Regions from separate parts of the Homo sapiens genome. Here regions 2, 3 and 4 are each linked to region 1. Evidence: promoter capture Hi-C in 16 types of primary human blood cells and fetal thymus (Javierre and others, 2016). All regions are on one chromosome and are shown on one strand. The core of a region is centred on a gene start or on the middle of the fragment in contact, and the rest is flanking DNA. Distances in the headings are between cores, read along the strand shown.

What was found. Contacts are between HindIII fragments. The CHiCAGO score rates a contact against its expected background, and 5 or more counts as called.
Region 2: a fragment that was not itself captured here is called in contact with the fragment with the promoter of RPS15A in region 1 in 1 of 17 cell types (total CD4 T cells); the score reaches 5.1 in total CD4 T cells.
Region 3: a fragment that was not itself captured here is called in contact with the fragment with the promoter of RPS15A in region 1 in 1 of 17 cell types (M1 macrophages); the score reaches 5.5 in M1 macrophages.
Region 4: the fragment with the promoter of XYLT1 here is called in contact with the fragment with the promoter of RPS15A in region 1 in 1 of 17 cell types (total CD4 T cells); the score reaches 5.0 in total CD4 T cells.

What each region holds. Positions count from the first base shown.
Region 1 is chr16:18,788,860-18,791,949 of GRCh38, reverse strand. RPS15A (ribosomal protein S15a) reads left to right here and starts at 1,616. Exons shown (of 5, transcript NM_001019.5): 1 at 1,616-1,706; 2 at 2,832-2,969. The coding sequence starts at 2,837. ARL6IP1 (ARL6 interacting reticulophagy regulator 1) reads left to right here. Exons shown (of 6, transcript NM_015161.3): 6 at 1-281. RefSeq lists enhancers at 1,379-2,008, 1,946-2,663. The HindIII fragment of the contact is 4,087 bases long and covers 1-3,090 here.
Region 2 is chr16:17,011,063-17,014,152 of GRCh38, reverse strand. No RefSeq gene overlaps it. Among named protein-coding and RNA genes, the nearest start is that of XYLT1, 460 kb to the left of the region's middle. RefSeq lists enhancers at 209-308, 346-490 and a cis regulatory region at 409-426. The HindIII fragment of the contact is 228 bases long and covers 1,155-1,382 here.
Region 3 is chr16:17,355,136-17,358,225 of GRCh38, reverse strand. XYLT1 (xylosyltransferase 1) reads left to right here. Exons shown (of 12, transcript NM_022166.4): 2 at 176-214. Among named protein-coding and RNA genes, the nearest start is that of XYLT1, 110 kb to the left of the region's middle. The HindIII fragment of the contact is 3,736 bases long and covers 1-3,090 here.
Region 4 is chr16:17,469,352-17,472,441 of GRCh38, reverse strand. It overlaps XYLT1 (xylosyltransferase 1), which reads left to right and starts at 1,482. Exons shown (of 12, transcript NM_022166.4): 1 at 1,482-2,008. The coding sequence starts at 1,646. It overlaps LOC107987234 (a long non-coding RNA gene), which reads left to right and starts at 2,015. Exons shown (of 2, transcript XR_001752091.2): 1 at 2,015-3,090. LOC105371106 (a long non-coding RNA gene) reads left to right here. Exons shown (of 3, transcript XR_933144.3): 3 at 338-1,435. RefSeq lists enhancers at 987-1,488, 2,263-2,312, 2,433-2,702. The HindIII fragment of the contact is 8,582 bases long and covers 613-3,090 here.

The DNA of each region.
Region 1 (3,090 bases), core at 367-2,866:
GGTATATCTGTCCCTATTAAATAAGTGTTGTTTTCTCCTCTTTAATATTGCTGTGAACAGTGGTGCCCATTGTAGCATATGTTTGATTTTTTTTTATTATTTCATAAGAAAACTACGTTAATTTTACCTTACTTTCATTGTAAATAAGCCTGTCTTCCTATCTGGATTTTTTGTGTGCATACATATTCTACTGATTAACTACTTTTGCAGTTTTAATCCTGTATTATTTCTTCTACTTTGTTTTGTGTAAAAGGGGAAAAAATAAAAAAAGCTGGAATCTTCATGTCTCACTTTCTTTATAACTTAGCCAATATAATATTTATGATTGGATTTATGAATCTGATTAATGAAGTACCCTGTGTGGTCCTTAGATGTCTATAAGGTACCCTACCTGTAATCCCACCACTTTGGGAGACCTGGGCAGGAGGTTCACTGGAGTCCATGAGTTTGAGGTTGCATTGAGCTGAGTGTACCCCTGCACTCTAGCCTGGGCAACAGAGCAGGACCCTGTCTAGGAAAAATTTTAAAAAAGAACAAAAATAAAAGGTTTAAGTTTTATTTAGCAAATATCCAGGTACCATGCTAGAGGGAAGAGGAAATGCAACGAATGAGCAGGGGCATTGACGTGTGAGAGAGGACGAAGCTGGAAGAACCGGCAGGGACAGAACTGGCTAAATGGTGCCTGTGTGGGCACCTCGTACCCCAGGGCCTTGCTAGCGTCTGGTACATGGGTGCTCAGTAAACAACTGTTGGGTGACTTTTGTCTGAACTTAACTTTTTAATTAAAAAAAAATTTTTAGCCGGGTGTGGTGGCTCACGCCTGTAATCCCAACACTTTGGGAGGCCGAGGTGGGCAGATCACTTGATGTCAGGGGTTTGAGACGAGCCTGGCCAACATGGTGAAACCCCGTCTCTACTAAAAATACAAAAATTAGCCGGGTGTGATGGCGGGCGCCTGTAATCCCAGGTACTCTGGAGGCTGGGGCAGGAGAACCGCTTGAACCCGGGAGGCGGAGGCTGCAGTGCGCCAAGATCGCGCCACTGGACTCCAGCCTGGGCGACAGAGCGAGACTCCTTATCAAAAGTAAACTAAAATAAAAATTAAGGCCCGCGCGGTGGCTCCCGCCTGTAATCCCAGCACTTTCGGAGGCCGAGGCGGGCGGATCGCAAGGTCAGGAGATCAAGAACATCTTCGCCAACTTGGGGAAACCTCGTCTCTACTAAAAATACAAAAATTAGCCGGGCGTGGTGGCGCATCTCTGTAGTTCCAGCTACTCAGGAGGCTGAGGCAGGAGAATCACTTGAACCCGGGAGGCGCAGGTTGCAGTGAGCCGAGATCACGCCACTGCACTCCAGTCTGGGCTACAAGAGCGAAACTGTCTCAAAAAAAAAAAAAAAATGTAGACGAACCTCCAACGAACGGCTCACCTTGCCTCTCCCAGGCCCCACCGGGGGAGGTCGATTCCATCGACTCTCAACTGCCAACCCCTGAGGAGGCTCCGCCTTTCCCTCACCCTCGTCCTTCTCCTAGGCGGTCCTTGTTTTTGCCGGGCCTTTGAAAGTCTCGCGATAGCTCTCCCGCTTCCCATAACTCCGTGCGCTCTCCCCTCCCGTCCTCTTTCCGCCATCTTTCCGCGCCGGTGAGTAGCACTCTCTGAGAGCTCCAATTTCATCCGTCTGCCATCGGCGCCATCCTGCAATCTAAGGTTCGGTCTCGGTGTCCTGCGAGGAGGCTGGTCCCCACCTTGGCCGAGGATCCTGGCCTTGCCGGTTCCTGGACAGGCATAGAGGAGAGCCATGGCTGGGCGCCCCAGACTGTGCACTCAGGGGATCCCGGTCCGTGGGGTGCAGGCCGCAGCGCGGGCGGGAGCCGGAGCCTTCGACTGCCCAGCTAGGCGGTAGCTCCGGTTCGGGCCGCAGCGTCTGGATCTCCCTTTAGTGCTGAGGCAGCGCCTTGGCCCCGGGCGGCGGGCAACATCGGGGCTGGTGGGCCGTGCAGCTTCTCACTGCTGCGGCCGCGCTGGGAGCTTGGGAGGCTGAGGCCACCCAGCAGGTAAAAGCTGCATCGTGCCGGGGTTGGCAGTTTGCTGGGTGCCAACTTGGATCTTCTGGGCCGCAGAGTTTTTCTTTAGACACTTTTGAACTTAAGGAATTTAAGTTCTACTCTTTACTATTGGCACTTTGGTCTTTCAAAACTTCAGTGTAGTGTGCGGTTCTTGCCCATTAGAAGAGAGTCCAGTCTGACAAGCATGTAAAATGTTTCTGTTTGCCACTGTGGCTCTTGCTGTTGGACGCAATTTTAAATGGCACGAAGATGGATGTTTAATAGTTAGATGTGTTCATTGTAGGTGAGAGTGAACTGATTTAAAGTACAATGTTAATAGTATGGAATCTGCTGATTTTCAGCAATTTGGAAAATGTTGCCGATGATACTCTGCTTCTGTTCTGAATCACTGATCGACTATACCCGATGTTTTCCTTCCGGTAGCTGGCAGTTTCTGCCAGTTCTCACGTTGTCTTGTGTCAAGTGGATTTTGTCCCACATTTTATTATCTCCAGACGTTGGTGTGTGGCACGATTCGAAGAAGAGTGGTTAGTGAATGAATGAGTTTCAAAATGTGCAGGCTGACGTCCCGATAACCTGTTTTCAACAACCGTAGTAAATAGGAATTTTCCTGGGTGGTGGGAAATGGAGAAGCAGCCTGCTTAGACTTGAGAAAACTTCGCCAAGGTGGGGCCAGAAAGGAAAGGATACTTCCGCAGTGTAATGGTTGGTGTCTGTTGATGTTGGCAATGCCAGTAAAACCTCCTGTTTTGTCTTCCTTGAACAGCCACAATGGTGCGCATGAATGTCCTGGCAGATGCTCTCAAGAGTATCAACAATGCCGAAAAGAGAGGCAAACGCCAGGTGCTTATTAGGCCGTGCTCCAAAGTCATCGTCCGGTTTCTCACTGTGATGATGAAGCATGGTAAGTCTGCTGCCGCTGTGTTTTATGTTTTCATGTGAGACTCTCTAAGAAATCAGTCCTGTAGAAATTAATTATGGGGGACCAAAGTATGTCTGTCATACCTGAGAACGAATGCAATTGA
Region 2 (3,090 bases), core at 19-2,518, 1.8 Mb after region 1:
ATTGAGACTACTAGAGTAGGAAATGTTACTTCATCTGAGAAATCTCAACCCACCTCTGCACAAAGGGTGTTGATGGGTTCAACGGAGAGGTGTGGCTGTTGAAAGGCATCACAGCCCTTCCAGGGGCGAGAGCTTGCGCACTTACCCCTGAGTCTGAGGTCATGTAACCCCTGCCAGTTCAGCCGGGACTTAAAACCGTAACTAATGCTCCTCTCTCCTCTCCGCAAGATCATCAGCCGTCGAAGCACCGCCTCTACTGAGTTCACTCCATCTGGAATCCTCTGGGGAAAGAAACATGGATTGCGTACACAGCAGAATTAGCCTTTTGTATTTCATTGTGTGTCTGTTGAGGCGGCGGTGAACCAGATGTGGTTTTCGGCAGACATAACTTCAAAAGCCGGAAACACACTTATCAGGAAACTGCAGAACATGAGGCAGCCGGCAACAGTCAAGGTCACTGACAGGTGACGTGGCCAATAAAGGGAGATTAAAAGCCATGACTTGTCTGACACGGGCCCATTTGATACTTACCAATGGCAGGATACGGAACATTGCCTACTCTTGATGGGAAGTCATTGAACATAGTGTAATTTCTTAGAAAGTGAATCCCTGTCATTTTTCTCTACGATAAAAAAAAAAGGAAGGAAATAAAATAAAATCCAGGTAGCTCTCTGCTGACGACCAAAATGTGTTTATTTACTGAATACCATTTACCATTGGCCAGATTTTTCTGCCAAATATTCTCTTATTGGATCCTCAGTACAACCAAACGTGTTCTCAAATTAATAATTATCCTGCCTTTACAGTAGGGAGAAGTGAGACTCAGAGGATTTGTGGTAAACTTTCCAAGCTAGTCAGTGACCAGCCAGGACTGTAACCCAGAGATTATGTTATAATGCTTACGCATGGTGACAGCGCCTTACTCTAGGTGAAGGAATGACATCCAGATGGCATTGTTTTCTGGCAACACGGACAACTGGAATGCAAAGCAAACCCTACCTAATTTTTGGACACCATACTTTCTGCAGCCAAAAAAACAAGAAATGCATACTCTAAAGAACTGCTGGAAACGTTTATTTGCATGCCGGGCGGCGATGCCAGAGTCCCCTGATTCTGCACTACGTGGCCTAGGGAAGATTTTCATAAATCAAGCTTTCTTCTATCCCAAATAACATTTTATGCATGCCAAGGAATCTCACTATTTAAAAAAGCTCATTCACAAAGCCTCCTTCTGCTTTTCACCCACCCGTGTATTATTTAGTGTAGGTTTAAAAAAAACACAACAGCTTGAAATTCAGGTTTAAACCAGTGGGAGCATCTACTAAGAACAAACCAAATTAAGAAGAAATGATTCTTCAAATATTTGGTATACTAAATAAGCTTGGCCCAGAGGTAAGCTGTGGTCACCTCTTCCTTTGCATTTTAAATAAATTTGGCCTGAGCTTATATCCCACATCCTATGAGTTGAACATCTTGCCAAGACTTTTGCAGATTCCTCAGGGTTCCTGTTTCTTTTGATTATTTCTACCTCCAAGTTCCTGCTCCCGTTTCTCTCTGTCTCACATTTATTCTCTTCTCTCTGCACTGCATGGACCCAGAGAAAAACTCAGCCTCTTTCTCTGACATTCCCCACACCGCCTGCCCAATATATTTGTCATTGTCAGTACTTTGGGGTGACCCAGAAAGGTTCTATCACAGCAACACCAGTGCCTTAAAATTGTATATTAGATATCTCAGGTCTGCTCGACTCCAAAATCTCAACCTCTACTTCCTACCTCCTCAACTGGGAGGATAAGCTCTGCTCCAGCCATTACAGCCCCTTGTGATTCCTCCATCACGCCAAGCTTGTTTCTGCTTAGGGGCCTGTGGACTTGCCAGACGGCTGTCTCTCAGCCTCAAGACACATTCACTCATTTCCCCCACGTCTCTGCACAATGTCACCTTATAACACGAGCCTTCCTGATCATCCTTCATTAGAACACCTTGGTCTTCTCCCTTCTCCTTTGTCTCCATAGCTCTCATCAACACGTGAAATATTGCGTATTTTCTTGCATTTTTTTTCTGTCTCTCCTACCAGAACTCATGCTCCATGAGGGTGGCAGTTTTGCCTGTTTTGTTTTCTCCAGTACCTCCAGAATCTAGAATAGAGGCATGCATACCCAGTGGAATATTGATGCATTTTATTGACTGAGTCAGAAGATCACTAAAGAGACTTTCCATTTGGAGTACTATTCAGCCATGAAAAAGAATGAGGTCCTGTCATTTGCAACAACATAGATGGAACTGGAGGTCATTATGTTAAGTGAAATAAGCCAGGCACAGAAAGACAAACTGCATGTTCTCATTTATTTGTGGGATCTAAAAATAAAAACAATGAACTTATGGAGATAGAGAGTAGAAGGATGGTTAACAGAGGCTGGAAAGAATAGTGGGGTGACAGGGAGAATGTTAATGAGAACAAAGAAATACCTAGAAATAAATAAGGCCAGGCATGGTGGTTCGTGCCTATAATCCTAGCATTTCAGGAGGCCACGGCGGGCAGATTGCCTGAGCTCAGGAGTTTGAGACCAGCCTGGACAACATGGCGAAACCCCATCTCTACTAAAAATATAAAAAATTAGCCAAACGTGGTGGTGCATGCCTGAAATCCCAGCTACTTGGGAGGCTGAAGCACAAGAATCGCTTGAACTCAGGAGGCAGAGGCTACAGTGAGCCCAGATCATGCCACTACACCCCAGCCTGGGTGACAGAGCGAGACTGTCTCCAAAAAAAAAAAAGAATAAATAAGACCTACTATTTGATACCACACAGGGTGACTATAGTCAATAACTTAATTGTACATTTTTAAATAACTAAAGGAGCTTAATTGGATTGTTTCTAACACAAAGGACAAATGCTTCAGGGGATGGATACTCCATTCTCCATGATTTGATTATTTCACATTGCATGGCTGTATCAAAATATTAATTTTTTTTGAGACGGAGTTTCACTCTTTCGCCCAGGGTGCAGTGCAGTGGCGCAATCTTGGCTCATTGCAACCTCTGCCTCCTGGGTTCAAACAATGCTTCCTCAGCCTCCTGAGTAGCTGGG
Region 3 (3,090 bases), core at 387-2,886, 1.4 Mb after region 1:
GGAGGTCGAGGCTGCAGTGAGTGAGCTATGATCATGCCACTGCTCTCCAGCCTGGGCAACAAAGCGAGACCCTGTCTCTTAAAAAAAAAAAAAAAGGAAAGAAAGAAAAAGATGCTGGGGTAGTAAGTTAACTTTTTTTCACTCCTCACGTGCATTTTCTCCTTTCATCCTACAGGATCCACACCCAAGTCCGCTCATCACCCTGGAGACTCAGGTAAGTATCTTTCCTGTCTTGGCCACTTATCTCAGCCTTAGTATTCCAGCTCTCAAGGGGACTTGTCCCGTGGCTCTGAAAGGCTGGACAGGCCCATGGCTGCCCCTGGTCCCATTTGGATGTGTGTGTGCCTGCACATGTATGTATACACACTGGCATATAGTGTACACGTGTGTGCAATGGTGTGGGTGTGCATGGGTGCACATTCGCACCCAGGTGTCTGGTGCCCCTCCCACCTGTGGCGAGAACCATAATCATTTCTTTTGAGTTTTCGTCTGTCCTTCGCTCCTGCCCAACCATCATGCGGAGGTTCATGCAAAGGAGAGAGGAGACAGAGGAGAGCCATGAAGTGGGAAGATGCTACTCTTTGATGCCTGAACTTGGAGGACTTTTATTCCTTGGCAGTGAGGGCAGCATATGGAAGGAAGTTGCACCCTTTCATCTGCTTGCGTGTTAGGCCATTCTGAGGAATTGTGATTGCAGTGGCATTTCCGTGTGGGGAGGAGGATGACCAGCGGGTCTTGTAAGGGAGGGCACGGCCCTGACTGTCTGCTTTCTGCCTTCCTGGGAGCTAGGACAGTGCAGCAGCTATGAGTATAGGCCTTGGAGTTCAACAGAGCCAGGTGGAATTCCACCTCTGTGTCTTCTAGCCCTGCAGTGTTCATGGGGCCACATAATGTCTAAGCCAGTGTCTTCGCATCTGAAACGTCATCCCAGTGATAGTGCCCACCTTGCAGAGTTGTGGTTGAGGGTCACAGGAAATGATGTTTATAAAGTCCGGGGTACGTGCTAAGTGCTTGTGAGTGGTAGCGTTTTTTTTTTTTTTTTTTTTTTTTTTTGAGACCGAGTCTCTGTTGCCCAGGCTGGAGTGCAGTGGCATGATCTCGGCTTACTGCAAGCTCTGCCTCCCGGGTTCACGCCATTCTTCTGTCTCAGCCTCCCCAGCAGCTGGGACTACAGGCGCACGCTGCCACGCCCGGCTAATTTTTTAATATTTTTTCTAGAGACGAGGTTTCACCGTGTTAGCCAGGATGGTCTTGATCTCCTGACCTTGTGATCCGCTCACCTTGGCCTCCCAAAGTGCTGGGATTACAGGCATGAGCCACTGCGTCCGGCAAGTGGCAGCTTTTTAAACCAATAGAACTGTTACTTTTCCTGCTGGATCTGAAGGGGACGTTTCTTATCTTTGGATTAATCATTTCCTTAGCTCTTTGGGTTTGGCTGACAGTAAAGAGAGTAGGCAGACAGGACAGGCCTCGTTCAGAGCCCCACAGTGAATAGCTTGCAAGTGTCAGACACAGTCAAACCTGTTCGAACGTTTCAAGGCTGAATGACAGCTCAGCGATTTCAAGGGTTTCTGGGGTGGACTGGAAAAGACCACCTGCTCCCCTGGCCTTTGCCTCCTCCACCTTGGGTCCTTGCCCTCTCCTTGGCATCTCTGCTTGGGTTCTCCTAAGAGGAATGAGGAGACCTTCCTTGCTTCCTCCCTGATGGGGAAGGCCAGCAGATCTTCACAGTTTCCTTGTGCTTTTCTGTCCTTGCATTCTCTGGCACACAGGTATAGCCACGGGGGCCCCAGGGCTGACCAGGCGCCAGGGCCGGCAGGGAAGTATAGAAGGTGCAGCTCTGAGGAGGAAAAGGATTCGGTTTCCTCTGCCTGTTTGGCTGTCCTCTGGCTTGGTTTTGTCTGTCCTTATCACCTTGACCACCTTTGCCTTATGTAAATTTCATCTATTCTATAAAGTCACCTAAAAATACATTTTTCCTTAACATAACTCACTTTGCTTTCAGAAATAGACTTACCTTAATCTAATGGTTCTAAACCGGGGGGTGGTTTTGATTCCCAGTGGTTATTTGGCAACGTCTGAAGACATTTGGTGGTGGTCTCATCTGGTTGGGGGGTTTACAACTGGCATCTAGTAGGTGGAGACCCAGGTTGCTGTTAAATATCCTACAACACACAGGCCAGCTCCCCACTGGAAAGAATTATCTGGTCCTGGGCCTGGCACGGTGGCTAACGCCTGTATCCCAGCACTTTGGGGGGCTGAGGTAGGCAGATCACTTGAGGCTAGGAGTTCGAGACCAGCCTGGCCAACATGGTGAAACCCCATCTCTACTGAAAAAAAATACAAAACATAGCCAGGCATGGTAGTATGTGCCTGTAATCCCAGCTACTTGGGAGGCTGAGGCAGGAGAATCACATGGACCCAGGAGGTAGAGGCTGCAGTGAGCCAAGATTGAGCCACTGCACTCCAGCCTGGGTGACAGAGTGAGACTCGGTCTCAAAAAAGAATGATCCAGCCCTAAATACTAATGGTGTTGAGATTGAGAAACACTGTCTCAAGCAATAATATTCATGGAACCACAAGTTTGAAGGGCTAGTTATATATTTTTTTGCACAACATTAAAATAGATATTAAACTGTGAAAATATTGTTCCTGTACGCACCCTCTGATGTCACCTAAACTTCCTATCAGAGATGTGTGTGCTACCCTTTGGGAAACGTGTCTCTACCCAGTCTACCCCAGGGACTATGAGAGAACTTCCACGGTGTGTTTTTAAAATGATGGTCCTTCTTTTCCTTATCCTTCCCCAGAAGGATACCCTATTAAACTTATGAAAACCCATGGGCGAACATCTGTGTCCGGAACTCTGGAAGTCAAATCTTATCTCCTGGGAGTGGAACAGCAGAATCCCTGGATGGTTCTGTCTTTGACCTTCCTGTATCCTTCACTCTGGACACCACCCCATCAGCCCTTCAAAACCCTCATGGGAAAGAGGAGTTGCAGACCAGTGGCTTTGGCCAGCACCTGAGGCTTCCAGCAGCAGCTCCTTACACAGTGGCGACTCTTAAAGTCCAATCTGTTAGCCCAAGG
Region 4 (3,090 bases), core at 233-2,732, 1.3 Mb after region 1:
CCATGTTGGCAAGGCTGATCTCGAACTTCTGACCTCAGGTGATCCTCCTGTCTTGGCCTCCCAAAGTGCTGCGATTACAGGCATGAGCCACCGCGCCCAGGCCTATCTCACTATATTTTAATGATTAACATCCACATCAGGCTTCTCTAGACCTCAGGCTTGCTGAAGATGAGATTAAACCTCATTCACCTTTGGATGCGTGCACCTGGCCCAGTGTCTGACACAAGCTTTGTATTCACGGATGCTTGTGGAGTGGATGAAACAATCTCTTCCCACTCCCTGCCTCATTGTCTGATGAGCCTTCATTACACTCCACTTTCTTCTCTTTGTAAATTAGGATGAGGTGAAAAAGCACAGCAGACAAGATGCGAAGCATTCACGCCAAGTCCTCAATTCACAAACTGATTTGATCTGCTGTTGTATTCCCAGAGTGCTAGGTCCCGTATGGGACACCAACGCCATCCCATATGCTCACTGTTCTGCGCTGCTGTGTATAAAGCCCTGGGCAAGAGGACAAGGGAGGGAAAAACCAGAAAGACTGAGTCAGAGAAGGCTCGGGATGAAATTTGAGTCCATTGGGATCATTCTGCCTAAACGACAGAGGAGAAAGCTTGGGCTCAGGGAGGAGTCCTCCTCCTCCTGGCTCAAGGTCACCGGGACAGACCAGTCAGGATGGGAAAGAACTCCACTTTCAAGAGCAAGACCTGTTTCCCCAGGACCTGGGCCCTGTGCAGACAGGAAGGGGGACTTCAGGATGGATGGGGAAAAGGACACGCTGGGAGGCTGCGGGGCCAGCCTTTGGGGCTTGCATCCTGCGAAGGTTGAGTAACTCCACGGGTCTCCCTTTTGCCGCTATACCACTTGCCAACTGGGTTTGGAGTCTCTTGGCTTGTGAGTCCTCAGGGACCAGAGAAGTGACTCAGTGAACACTTAGTACATCGTTGGCACCGGGGATTGTGTGTGATTCAGGAGTCACTCACAGAGCTTGTGCTGATTAACTCCAGAAACTCACCCAAAGCCTCCTCCCCACCCCTTCAAGCCCAGGATGAAGGGATCAGACTGTGGCTCTGACACTCCTGAAATGTTTCTCACGTGTCCACCTGCCAACCGGTCTGGTACCGACAGAAGATCCCTGGACCGCGAACTCCGGGGCTAGGAGCTTCCTCCACGCACTGCCTCCTTCCAGCGGCCCACAGGGAAAACAGGACCTCGGGACCCCCTCTCTTCCTGACCTCCCCTGGATTCTGAGCGGGCCCACCCTCAACCAAAGGTCCCCTGTTTCGCGGCCCCTGCCTCTCTTTTTCCGCCTTGGGAATTGTCCCCCTCGCCCCCCATCCTACTCCCACTACGTCCTGAGGGGTGTCTGTCTTCTCTGATCGCCCCCACCCCCTTCCTTTCCCTCCTCCTTTTCCTCCCTCGGCTCCTCCCCCAGGCCCCGCCCTCTCCGCCTCGGCCCGCGTCCCCCCGGCGCCTTCCCCATCACCCTCCCCTCCAGCGGGGACAGGGGTGTGGGGAGGGGGGCGGCGGCGGCGGCCCGAGCGGGAGCCCGAGCGGCAGCCGGCGGCCGCGGGAGCTGCGGGGAGCGCGGGGGCGGCCCGGAGCGTGCCGGGGTCCCCGCGCCTCGCTCGCCGGCCGCGCTCCGAAGATGGTGGCGGCGCCGTGCGCCCGGAGGCTGGCCCGGCGCTCGCACTCGGCGCTGCTCGCGGCGCTCACGGTGCTGCTGCTGCAGACGCTGGTCGTGTGGAATTTCAGCAGCCTCGACTCCGGGGCCGGGGAGCGCCGCGGGGGCGCAGCGGTCGGCGGCGGGGAGCAGCCGCCCCCGGCCCCGGCCCCGCGCCGGGAGCGCCGGGACCTGCCCGCCGAGCCGGCTGCAGCCCGAGGAGGAGGAGGAGGCGGCGGCGGAGGAGGAGGAGGACGGGGGCCCCAGGCGCGGGCGCGGGGAGGCGGCCCCGGAGAACCGCGGGGACAGCAGCCGGCCAGCCGGGGGGCACTGCCCGCCCGGGCTCTGGTAAGATGCCCTTTCGGCTCGCGCCCCGCGGCGAGGGAGGGAGGAAGGCAGCCCGACCCCACGCCCCCCTAGCCCTTGAACTCGGTCATCAGACTGGGACTCTGCAAGCCTACCGACTCCACATCGCCTCTTGCCCCGGGAAGCCGGGTGGGGTCCCTGCCAAGGCTCAGGGGTCGTGGGCTGCCCCTTTCAGAGTCTGAGCACGGACCCCTTGGGGTCTGGGGGAAGTTTTCTCCAGCGGGGGCGCTTTGGGGGTTACCGGAGCCTGGCTGGGTTCCTGTTCCCCATCACTCTTGCTGGGGACCCCAGGTGACTTGCTCCGTGCGTGTAGGTCTTGGTGACTCGCTCCCTGCCTGAGTGAGTGGATCTCCCCGGATCCTCAGCCGCTGTTCCTGGGCGGTTGTCGCAGCAGCATCTCTCTGGTTTTTGCCGAGCTGGGTGCAGACAGTTGAGCCCTCTGTTCGTCCTGGCCTGCGATGAGGGCTGAGCTGGGCGTCCCAAGTCCCCGACCATGCCCCTGAATCAATACTCAGTCCGGGGTGTCTGGTCTTACTTTGGGTCTTCTGTTTCTCTTCTCTGGATGTTTGAGCCTTCCGTCTTCACCTTCTCTGTCTCTAACCTTGCCGTCTCCCATGCCCTCTGTGACTTTATCTCCTCCCCATCTCCAGTTTCAGGGCATGGCTCCTTCTCCTAGCTGGTTGTCTCTGTCTTTCTGTCTTGTTGCGGCCGGTTCAGGTCACCAGCTGTGTGTCCGACCACACCGTCAGGGCTTCCACTCCTATGGGATTACTTTGCCCTTCGTGGGTGTGAACAGTCAGGGCTCTGAAACTGTTTTTTCCGCAGATCTGGGGCCATCTGGGTGGCTGGGTGGGGAACTGACTTGTCTTCCTACCCTGTCCCTAACTTCTCCAGGGATACCTTTCCCACCTTCTCTGGGCTGCCTTGCCCAGCCTACTGAGCTAGGAGCAGGAGCACATGGGGCAGGAGGCCGGAGTCCCCATTTCAGAGCCAAGGTCTCAGTTCTCCAGGGGCGTGAGTTCTGCCTTAGGGCATAGCCAATGTGTTGTGTGTCTGTCTGTTTC